Regions from separate parts of the Homo sapiens genome. Here regions 2 and 3 are each linked to region 1. The links are contacts of gene promoters, found by promoter capture Hi-C in human tissues and cell types (Jung and others, 2019). All regions are on one chromosome and are shown on one strand. The core of a region is centred on a gene start or on the middle of the fragment in contact, and the rest is flanking DNA. Distances in the headings are between cores, read along the strand shown. Region 1 holds the start of TMEM128 (transmembrane protein 128). Region 2 overlaps CRMP1 (collapsin response mediator protein 1). Region 3 overlaps EVC (EvC ciliary complex subunit 1).

Evidence for each region. Contacts are between HindIII fragments. The study calls those that stand out against the background at their distance.
Region 2: a fragment that was not itself captured here is called in contact with the fragment with the promoter of TMEM128 in region 1 in 1 of the 25 tissues and cell types used here (dorsolateral prefrontal cortex).
Region 3: a fragment that was not itself captured here is called in contact with the fragment with the promoter of TMEM128 in region 1 in 1 of the 25 tissues and cell types used here (mesenchymal stem cells).

What each region holds. Positions count from the first base shown.
Region 1 is chr4:4,246,780-4,249,847 of GRCh38, forward strand. TMEM128 (transmembrane protein 128) reads right to left here and starts at 1,444. Exons shown (of 5, transcript NM_001297551.2): 1 at 1,327-1,444. The coding sequence starts at 1,423. RefSeq lists enhancers at 786-1,412, 1,715-1,824. The HindIII fragment of the contact is 14,953 bases long and covers 1-3,068 here.
Region 2 is chr4:5,880,390-5,883,457 of GRCh38, forward strand. All of the region lies in intron 1 of CRMP1 (collapsin response mediator protein 1), which reads right to left. Among named protein-coding and RNA genes, the nearest start is that of CRMP1, 11 kb to the right of the region's middle. The HindIII fragment of the contact is 3,703 bases long and covers 1-3,068 here.
Region 3 is chr4:5,748,204-5,751,271 of GRCh38, forward strand. EVC (EvC ciliary complex subunit 1) reads left to right here. Exons shown (of 21, transcript NM_153717.3): 8 at 1-103. Among named protein-coding and RNA genes, the nearest start is that of EVC, 39 kb to the left of the region's middle. The HindIII fragment of the contact is 5,077 bases long and covers 1-3,068 here.

The sequences.
Region 1 (3,068 bases), core at 194-2,693:
CTCTGTCGCCCGGGTTGGAGTGGAATGGTTTGATCTCGGCTCACTGCAACCACCGCCTCCCGGGTTCAAGCAATTCTCCTGCCTCAGCCTCCCGAGTACCTGGGATTACAGGCGCCTGCCACCACGCCGGGCTAATTTTTGTATTTTTAGTAGAGACGGGGTTTCACCATCTTGGCCAGGCTGCTCTATTTGGCCAGGTTGGTCTCGAACTCCTGACCTCGTGATCAGCCCGCCTCAGCCTCTCAAAGTGCTGGGATTACAGGCGTGAGCTACCCTGCCCAGCCTATAACTAAATATTTTAGTTACTTTAAACACAGCTCAAAAGTGGAAACGGCACACCAGAGCTCTAGTTCCAGCACAGCACTGTCTAGACAGGTGATGGACAAGACATTTTTCCTGTCTGGAACGCAATCTGAAAGAATGGGTGGATGGGGGTTGGGTCAGATGGATGATTTCTATTAAGTTTTCCGGGGATTCTGACATGCCCTCTAGGTTCACGTGAGAATCAATGGTCCACATCTGAGGTTTTGGGCCTTTAGATGACCATCGGAAACCCTGGGAAGCATGTTCGTAATATTCTGGGATATCCTCAAAATGTATACATCATCATGCCTGGGCATGAGGTTATTCGTGTTTTTAATTTTAAAAGGTAATAAATGGACGTGGTTTTAAAACATATGAGATAAAAAATATCCAAAATGAAGTATCTGTCTCCCATCCTTAACCTCAGATCTAATCCCCAGAAGCAACCACCACTTACAATTTCTACTGAATTCTTCCATATTCTATGCATTCACAGGTGAACATACATCACAAGTTACCTGTTTTGTACCCAAATGGCGGCATACCATAGTGTTCCACACTTCCCTTTGAAAATCATCCCCATTGGTACATACGAGTCGACCTGATGTGTCAGGTATACATATACCCAAATTTACTTAAACAGCTTTCTGCTGACGGGCAAGGCAGATATTTCCAGTAATTCGCTATTACAAGCAATCCTGAAGTGAAACACTGCGCACATCATTGTACACTGCGGTACACGCATGTTTCTGGTAAATCCTTAAGACTTAAAACTGGTGGGTATTTTTAATTTTAATCGCTATTTCCAAATAGGTGTCAAATCAGCTCTCCAGAGAATTCTGAAGCGCAGCTGAAATGACGATGCACAGCACTCCGCGATTCTAAGGATCTTCCCTGACATTAAATATTCGACTTGCAAAGCCGAAACTCAGTCCTTCCAGACTGGGCCAGGGCTGCCGGAGGCCGGCCGTTTTCCGACGCCTCGCCTCTGAGAACCTCGGGGCGGCTTGGTGCGCGCCTCACCCGGCCCGGCGTCACCCTCGCGGTCCAGCTGGGCCTCGGCGTCCGGCAGGAGGAGGAATCGCCGCCGGAGCTGCTGCCGGGCCCGCGAGGAGTCCATCTTGGTACCGCCCCGAAATGCGACGGAAGTGACGTCAGACACAGCGCTTCCGGCGTCCGCTCCGGGTCTGGACCTCCTGGCGTTTGGATTGGAGACTGTGTTCTCTTCGCTGTTTAGTTAGCGAGCAGCTAGGGTGGAGTCGGCCTCAAAGGTTCCGCTCTCATGTCGGCAAGTGTGATTTGAATTTTAAAACACTGAGCTTTGCCGGTGGAAGAGTTCCCAAGTTTATTCCGACCTACGGAAGCCCAGGAGGACCAGGATTACCGCTGCCGCTGGATGCGTCCAGGGCCGGGATGCGCGACCGTGAGACGCTGCGCTTCCGAAGCCCTCGCAGGCTTCCGGGTGCCAGAGCAGGAGACATACCCTCTGTCCAGCCTTCCACTCTCAGCCCCCAGTTTTTTTCCTACTTTTGCTTTTCAGGAGTCGTCCAGCAAGACTTGAAAGGAGGAGAAAGGCCTGCTGGACAGGATGCTAGAGCCTGGCAGTGACCACTTGGGGGCCCTGGGCATTAAATAAACTTCTTGGGGCCCGTTTCGTTATTACACTTGGCTCTAGATTTGTTGTGCGTTTCAGTGAGAAGTACCTGTATGTGGTTCATGTGAGCCTCCTCCTCGCCACTTGTGAAAAATCCTCCCAGCCTGAACCGAGGGAACTAAATTGCTTTCCCAGCAAACTGCGGTTTTCCACACTGCTCACGCCCACAAACTGTGTGTTACGAGTTCACAACTTTTTCTTCGTCAATAATCCCGCGTATTACTCTCCCAGCCGTTTCCCAGCGTGTCATGTGCTGAGAAATGGTGGGCTTAGCCACGCAAACGTTTACTGAGCATCTACTATTTGGTAGGAGCTGTTAGGCACCATGCTAGCAGTGGAGATAAAGATGAGTAAGACATGGCCTTGCACGTGAGGAGCTCCTTGTCCAAAGAAAACCACAGAGGTATATTACAAGAAAACTCTATTTGTAAATGTATGAAAGCATTTCATCAATGCAGCCAACATTTTCTGAGCAGCTGCATGTGATAAAATGGTGAGGACAGAAGAATCTAGTAGAGGAAGCAGCTTCAATACAGTGCCATAATAAAAACACTGTACATGGGGCATAATAGAAACACTGTACATATAAAGGGCAGTTTATTCTGCTGCAGTGTGGGAGAGCAGGGAGAGTGGTTTCAGGTGAGTTGAATACAGGGGTGGAGAGCCAGCTACATAGGAAGTAAAATTTGAATTAGTAGGCACTGTTTAATATCTTCGATGTGTTGGGGTGTTTGTAAAAGGAATGTAATAAGAAATACTCAAGAAAAGAGTGCCAGCCGCGCGCGGTGGCTCACGCCTGTAATCCCAACACTTTGCGAGGCCGAGGCGGGCGGATCACAAGGTCAGGCGTTTGAGACCAGCCTGGCCAACATGGCGAAACCCCGTCTCTACTAAAAATACAAAAGTTAGCCGGGAATGGTGGCCGGCACCTGTAATCCCAGCTACTCTGGAGGCTGAGGCAGGACAATCACTTGAACCTGGGAGAAGGAGGCTGCAGTGATCCTGCCACTGCACTCCAGCTTGGGCAACAGAGTGAGATTCCCTCTCAAAAATAAAAATAAAAAAAATTAAAAAAAAGAGAGAAATACCAAATCCCTACTGATTTATCATT
Region 2 (3,068 bases), core at 378-2,877, 1.6 Mb after region 1:
ATTTAAAAATACATGGCAACATAATTTGGGGGCAGGTTCAAAATTTCCTCAAATAGCCACCTTTTTGCTGTATGTAATTCTGCATCAGATCCAATGAGTCTTCCCATGGAATTGACTCCAAGTTCCAACACCAGGTCATTATTTACTCAAGGCCCTGGGCAGAGCACAAGATGTGCAATGTGACGATCCCACTTGTGTGTAAAAAGTACCTTTTGCAAAAGCTTCCCATTCCATGTGAAATGCAGCGAAGCCCATTACTAAACCAGATCTGCCCTCTCCCCATTGTCAAAGCACCACTTCAGGGGCCCCCACACCTTCTTTTCGCTTTGAGCTCCAAAACTCCTCATGCCACCTTCATCTCATTCTGCATAGTAACTACCTTCATGTTAAATCCACAGACAGTGCCTTGTTAAGGAAGACTAAATGCAGCTGTGGCTGAAACCTCACTCAGCAAGGAAGTCCACAATCTTGCTCCCATTCACTCACTCACACAGTGTGGCATCCCCACTGTGAATCCCCAGTGTTCCTGAAGGGCTCCTGAGGAGAATCAGACAATTTCCCAGTCTTCCAAGTATCCATGGTCAAGCGGAGCAGATGGACATGAGCAACAAGCCAAAGTTACTGAAATTGAAGTGCTCACCACCCCCAGCCCAGGAGGAGGAATCCTTTATAGAGAATGGACACAGCTGATACAAAGGCAGAGGGCCACACATGGTGTGCCAGGTCAAGGCGAATGCTCTGGATGCCTGGGACACAGGCCCAAGGAAGGAGTGGGGAACTACAACCTCATATATCCACAAACATTGCTTTCTTCCTTTTAGCTGCTTGCTCTTGTTTTCTAGACAACTTCTCTATGAAGCATCCAAGATCCCACTCCACTTCCCAAACTACCAACACCAATTCAGAGTTGTTTCTTCTCAGAGCAAAGCTATGATTTGGTCATTACAGCTCTCTAGGGCAATGGTTCTCAACCTTACTGTACTCAGGACATACTTTCAAATCATATAAAATTTTGCAGCATTCTTGAAGGATTAAAGACCTAAAATTACACCAGGTAAGTCTGCAACCATCACCATGCCCTCCCACTGCAGTGTGACTGTAGCTGTCTTACAGGTCTATCATAGCTCTGATTGCACTTGGTTACCATTCAGCACCGTGGTGCTGTCCACTGCCCCGACCATGTTCTTTTATATGCTCTCACGGCAAAGTCCTCCGGTGTTCCTCTTCCATGGCAAGAGCTGACTTTTACTTACAGCAAATTAGACTCTATTCAACATCTCTCTGCTTGTGAATACTCAGGGCTCCACCTGAGAGATGCTACAATAATTTGTAGACTTGGTTGTAGCAAACATAAATTTTAAACGCTGATCAAAATTTAGCCACACATCGGCAGAGAATTTTTTTGAGTACACCACTGTGCTCACAGCACACAGGCTGAGAACCACTGGTTGTTGAAATAGCTTGCATTTTTCTGTCTTCTACCAATACCTTTTGTACATGGGCCCCTAATATCTATCTCTGTCCTTTGCCTCTCACCCTCATTCCAATCTATTCCTTATTGTCCATTGAGACACCTCAATTTCGAGCTTGCTACCAAATCCAATACAACCTAAGAACCAATGGTGGGATTTTTCTTCCAAACCCAATCGCTGTGCTTCCTGACCACCTCATTATCAGCTTCCACGGGTGTGTATTAGCATCTTTTACATGTCAGAACTTTCACATTCAATCCTCACATCTCCTCTAGAAAGACTGACTTTGTGCTTCTCTCCCACCGATTTAGAGCTTGATCATACAACTTGCTTTGGCCAGTACACTATCAGCAGATGTGAAATATGCTACATTTGAGTAGAAGTTCTTAAAGATATTTCAGGTTGCTGCCAATCTCTTGTGCTTTTCTTCTCCTTCAGCCTGGGTCTCAAAGTGAGGAGATGCACAGAGCAGACTCACTACCCACCAGTAAACAGGGGCAAAGTTACAGCCAACCCACAGCCCTCATGTAGCATGAGCAAAAAATAAGTGTATATTGTTGACACCTTGGGGTTGTATGCTATGGAGCAAAGCTAATACACCATCCCACGGTAATAATAATAAGAGCTAATCCACATTGCATTTAATATGTGCAGGCACTATTTTAAGCATCTTACACATATTAAGTCATTTAATTCTATGGGGAAAAAATCTTAGGAAATATCATTCTGATTTCCAAACATAAATCTGTACAGATAAAATTGATGCATAGAAAGAATAAGTGACTTGTCCAATTACATAGCTAGTAAGTAAAACAGCCAGGATTCAAAGCCAGATAGTCTGAGTTCAGAATCCACATTCCTACAAGCTGCTTTCATAATAACAGCATCTTACCTCAAGAACTTCCAGTGCCTTCCTATTAACCAAAGAAGAAGATCAGAGTGGCCTAGAACTTGGAACTGAATTATCTAATCCAACTCTCCCTGTCCAGAAAAGGAATCCGAGGCCCAGGGAGAGAAAGTGACTTGCTCAACATCAAATAACCCATTCATATCTAAGACACACTTAGAACCCACGTGTTATTTCCATCCCCTTGGGTGCATTCTCCCTGATTTCCAAAGCTTTATAGAATCCCCCCATAGCCCCACCCATTCACATGTATTTCCACTTCTGCGTCCTCTGATTCACCTGTGTGAAATATTCCACCCACCTTGCATGCCCTTCCCTTCCCTCAACCAATCAAGTCCCTCAACACCTGGCTGATGTCATCCTCCAAACCCCAAGAAGCCATCTCTTGTTGCTTCTGCCAGGGCTGAGTCATCTCTTCTCTGAATTCCTCTGACACCTGTGCCCTGTTCCGCAGCCTGCCTGCTTTCCTTCCTTCCTTCCTTCCTTCCTTCCTCCCTCCCTCCCTCCCTTCCTGTCTTTCTATCTTTCTCTTTCTTTCTTCTTTTTTGTTTGAGAGAGTCTCATTCTGTCGCCCAGGCTGAAGTGCAGTGGCATGATCTCAGCTCACTGCAACCTCTGCCTCCCAGGTTCAAGCAATTTCTCCTGCCTCAGCCTCCCGAATAGCTGGGATTACAGGTGCCCGCCACCAT
Region 3 (3,068 bases), core at 44-2,543, 1.5 Mb after region 1:
TAAGTGTTCCAGCTCCAAAGCCCGACAGCTGATGATGACTCTGACGGAAAGAATGATTGCAGCCGAAGGGCTATTGTGCGATTCTCAGGAGCTGCAGGCTCTGGTAATGCTGGAGGGGGCGGGAGGGAACATAAAGATATTCAGACTAGAGATATGGAATCCTGAGGCTTGACATCCTTAAATCTAACAGATTCATGTTGTAGCTGGTTATATAGAGCCTCAGGGAAAAAAAAACCAACAACAACAGTAAATTCATTCATCCATTTATTTATTTATCCATCCATCCACCCATCCATCCACCCATTGACCCTTCCATCCATCCATCCATCTACCCATCCATCCATCTGCCCTCCCACCCATTTATCCATCCATCCATCCACCCATCCATCCATCCATCCACCCATCCATCCACCCACCCATCCATCCATCTGCCCTCCCACCCATTTATCCATCCATCCATCCCTCCATCCATCCATCCACCCACCCATCCATCCACCCGTCCACCCATCCACCCACCCACCCATCCACCCATCAATCCACCCATCCATCCATTTACTCATCCATCCATCCATCCACCCATCCATCCATCCATCCATCCATCCGTCTATCCAATGAGTGAAGGCTCTGGCCAGCTCAGTATTACTGGAGCATAGAACACTGGTCCTAAACCTGAAATTACACATTGAAATTATCTGGGAGCTTTAAAAAGTACTGATTCTTGGGCCCCAGATGGGTCTCCATCCCAGAGTTTCTGACTTAATCAGATTGGGGTGCAACCTGGCTGGGCATTGGGGTTTTTAGAGCTCCCCAATGACGATGGTGGGAGCTGGGGTTGACGCCCACTGGTGTAGACAGAGCATTGATTGACTTTCCTGATTGCCCTGTTTTGCCTGCAGAGTTCTTTAACAATGCCTTTTCCTGGCCTTCACTCTGAGGTTCTAATATGATTGGTCTGGAGTGGAGGCCCTGGCATTGTGGGTTTTAAAACTCCCTGAACTATTCTGACGGGAGGCCAGGGATACAAACCCCTGGTGCATGGGTGTCCAACCTTTTGGCTTCCCTGGGCCACATTGGAAGAAGAAGAATTGTCTTAGGCCACACATAAAATACATTAACACTAACGATAGCTGATGAGCGGAAAAAAAAAAAAAAAAAAAGGTCCCTCCTTATTTTTGTGAAGCCTGCCAACCACAGATAAGCAAAAAAGTCCTCACATTCAAAGGGTTGGACACCCGTGGGAGAGAAATCTGCGAATCCAGCTTTGACTCTGGGCTCTGTTGTTTGGAGCTGTGTGATCTTGAACACATTACTTAACCTCTCTGCGCGTCTGTTCCTCTATTTATAAAATAATAGTGCTAAGAGTTGCCACAGACAGGGCCTGGCTAGATGCTGAGTGACTCCTAACACCCCAGTCACCATTGGGTTCCTCTTGGTACACATTGGGCTCATCCTGTGTGCGCCAGTGTGTACTAGGGCCAGGGAACGAGCCCTCTGATGCTGCCCTGCACCCATTTCCCCGTCCTGTGCACCAGCCCGTGTGGCAGCTCGGCTCAGAACCCTGCAGTGGCCACCCTGCCCTCAGCACAGACTCAGCTCCTCAGACCCGTGGGAAAGCCAAGCCTCAACGGATCTTTGCCTCCCCTTGCACACCACATGCCTCTCCCAATCCGCTCTGCTCCTCCAGGTGTGATCCACAGACCACAGCATCGGCAACACTGGGAGCTGGTTAGAGTGCAGAATCCTGTCCTCCACCCTTCCCAAGCAGGATCTGCACTTTAACAAGACCCCCACATCCACACAGTTGTTTGAGAACTTCATGTGCTTTTTCTCGGTATATACACACATGGCCTTTTTTTTCTGTCAACACTGCCGAAAGATAGGTATGGAAGATATTTTATTCACAGCACGCAGATAAGGAGCCCACTCAGTGATCCACCTAAGATCCCCGTCCTCTCTAATGACATCGCTGAGCCTGGGCCTGAAGCTTCCTGGTTTGCTGCCCAAGCCCCTTTGAATTGGATTTCAGTTTGATAAGGCTGCTGACTCATTAATGCTCTGCAAAGGTGAAAGACTTTTCTTCCTATATTTTTTTCTTTTGCTATCAGCAGGATATTGATGCAGAAAAAAGAAAATACATCCTTAGCTGACTCTGGCCAGAGTATCAGCCAATAACTTCCAAATAGGAAGAAGGAAAGGGATCCTCCAGTTTAACAGCATGACTGTCCTTCAGCCAATGTTTAATGAGCACCTACTGTGTAGCACATGCTGTTCATGGAAACCATATTGCAGAGGTTAGGAATGCAGGCTCAGGGAAGAAACTGGAGCTCCCACTGCAGTCTTGCCACTCGTTAGCTGTGTGATCTTGGGCAGATAATTTAACCTCTCTGTGATTTGGTTTCATTTTCTGTGAAATGGGGGCTATGATAGCACCTGCTCTCTCACAGGGTAGTTGAGGGTGTTAAAGACTTGGCAGTATGTAAAGTTTTTAGAGCAGAGCCCGGCACGTAGGAAGCATTCAGTACTTGTTAGTCATTAGAGTCCTGCAGGCCACATGTCAGCAGGAGAAATAGACAGCAAAAAATTACTGTAATGATGCATGGACAGGGCTACACAGTCTATGTTTGTATAGAAGAGGGATGGATTCACTATGCCTGCATACCGGGCACCAAAGGGAAAAAAGATGGCTTCCGTATCTCAGAACACAGAAGAGTTGGAATTCCCAGGGCGGCATCCCATCTTTCTGGCCTGGGCATTTGGAGCTGAAATGTGCATCTGTAAATATTAAAACTGGAAGAGCCCTTCAAAGGGACCCTGACGGTCATCAGATTCAGTTTCTTGAGACTCACAGGAAAAAAAACAGCTGCCAAGACAGATGGGACTGGCTGTAGATAATGGTGAAAACAGCTGACACTCAGGGAGGCTCACTGTTCCCTGGCCGTTGTTCTCAATGCTTCACGTATTTTGACTTACTTAATCCTCATGTCAAATCTGTGTGGCAAGGGTCAGGTGAGGAGCTTGTGCTCAGGTCCTGGGAGCCAAGTCTGAGCCTGGCACTGTTGACTCAGCCA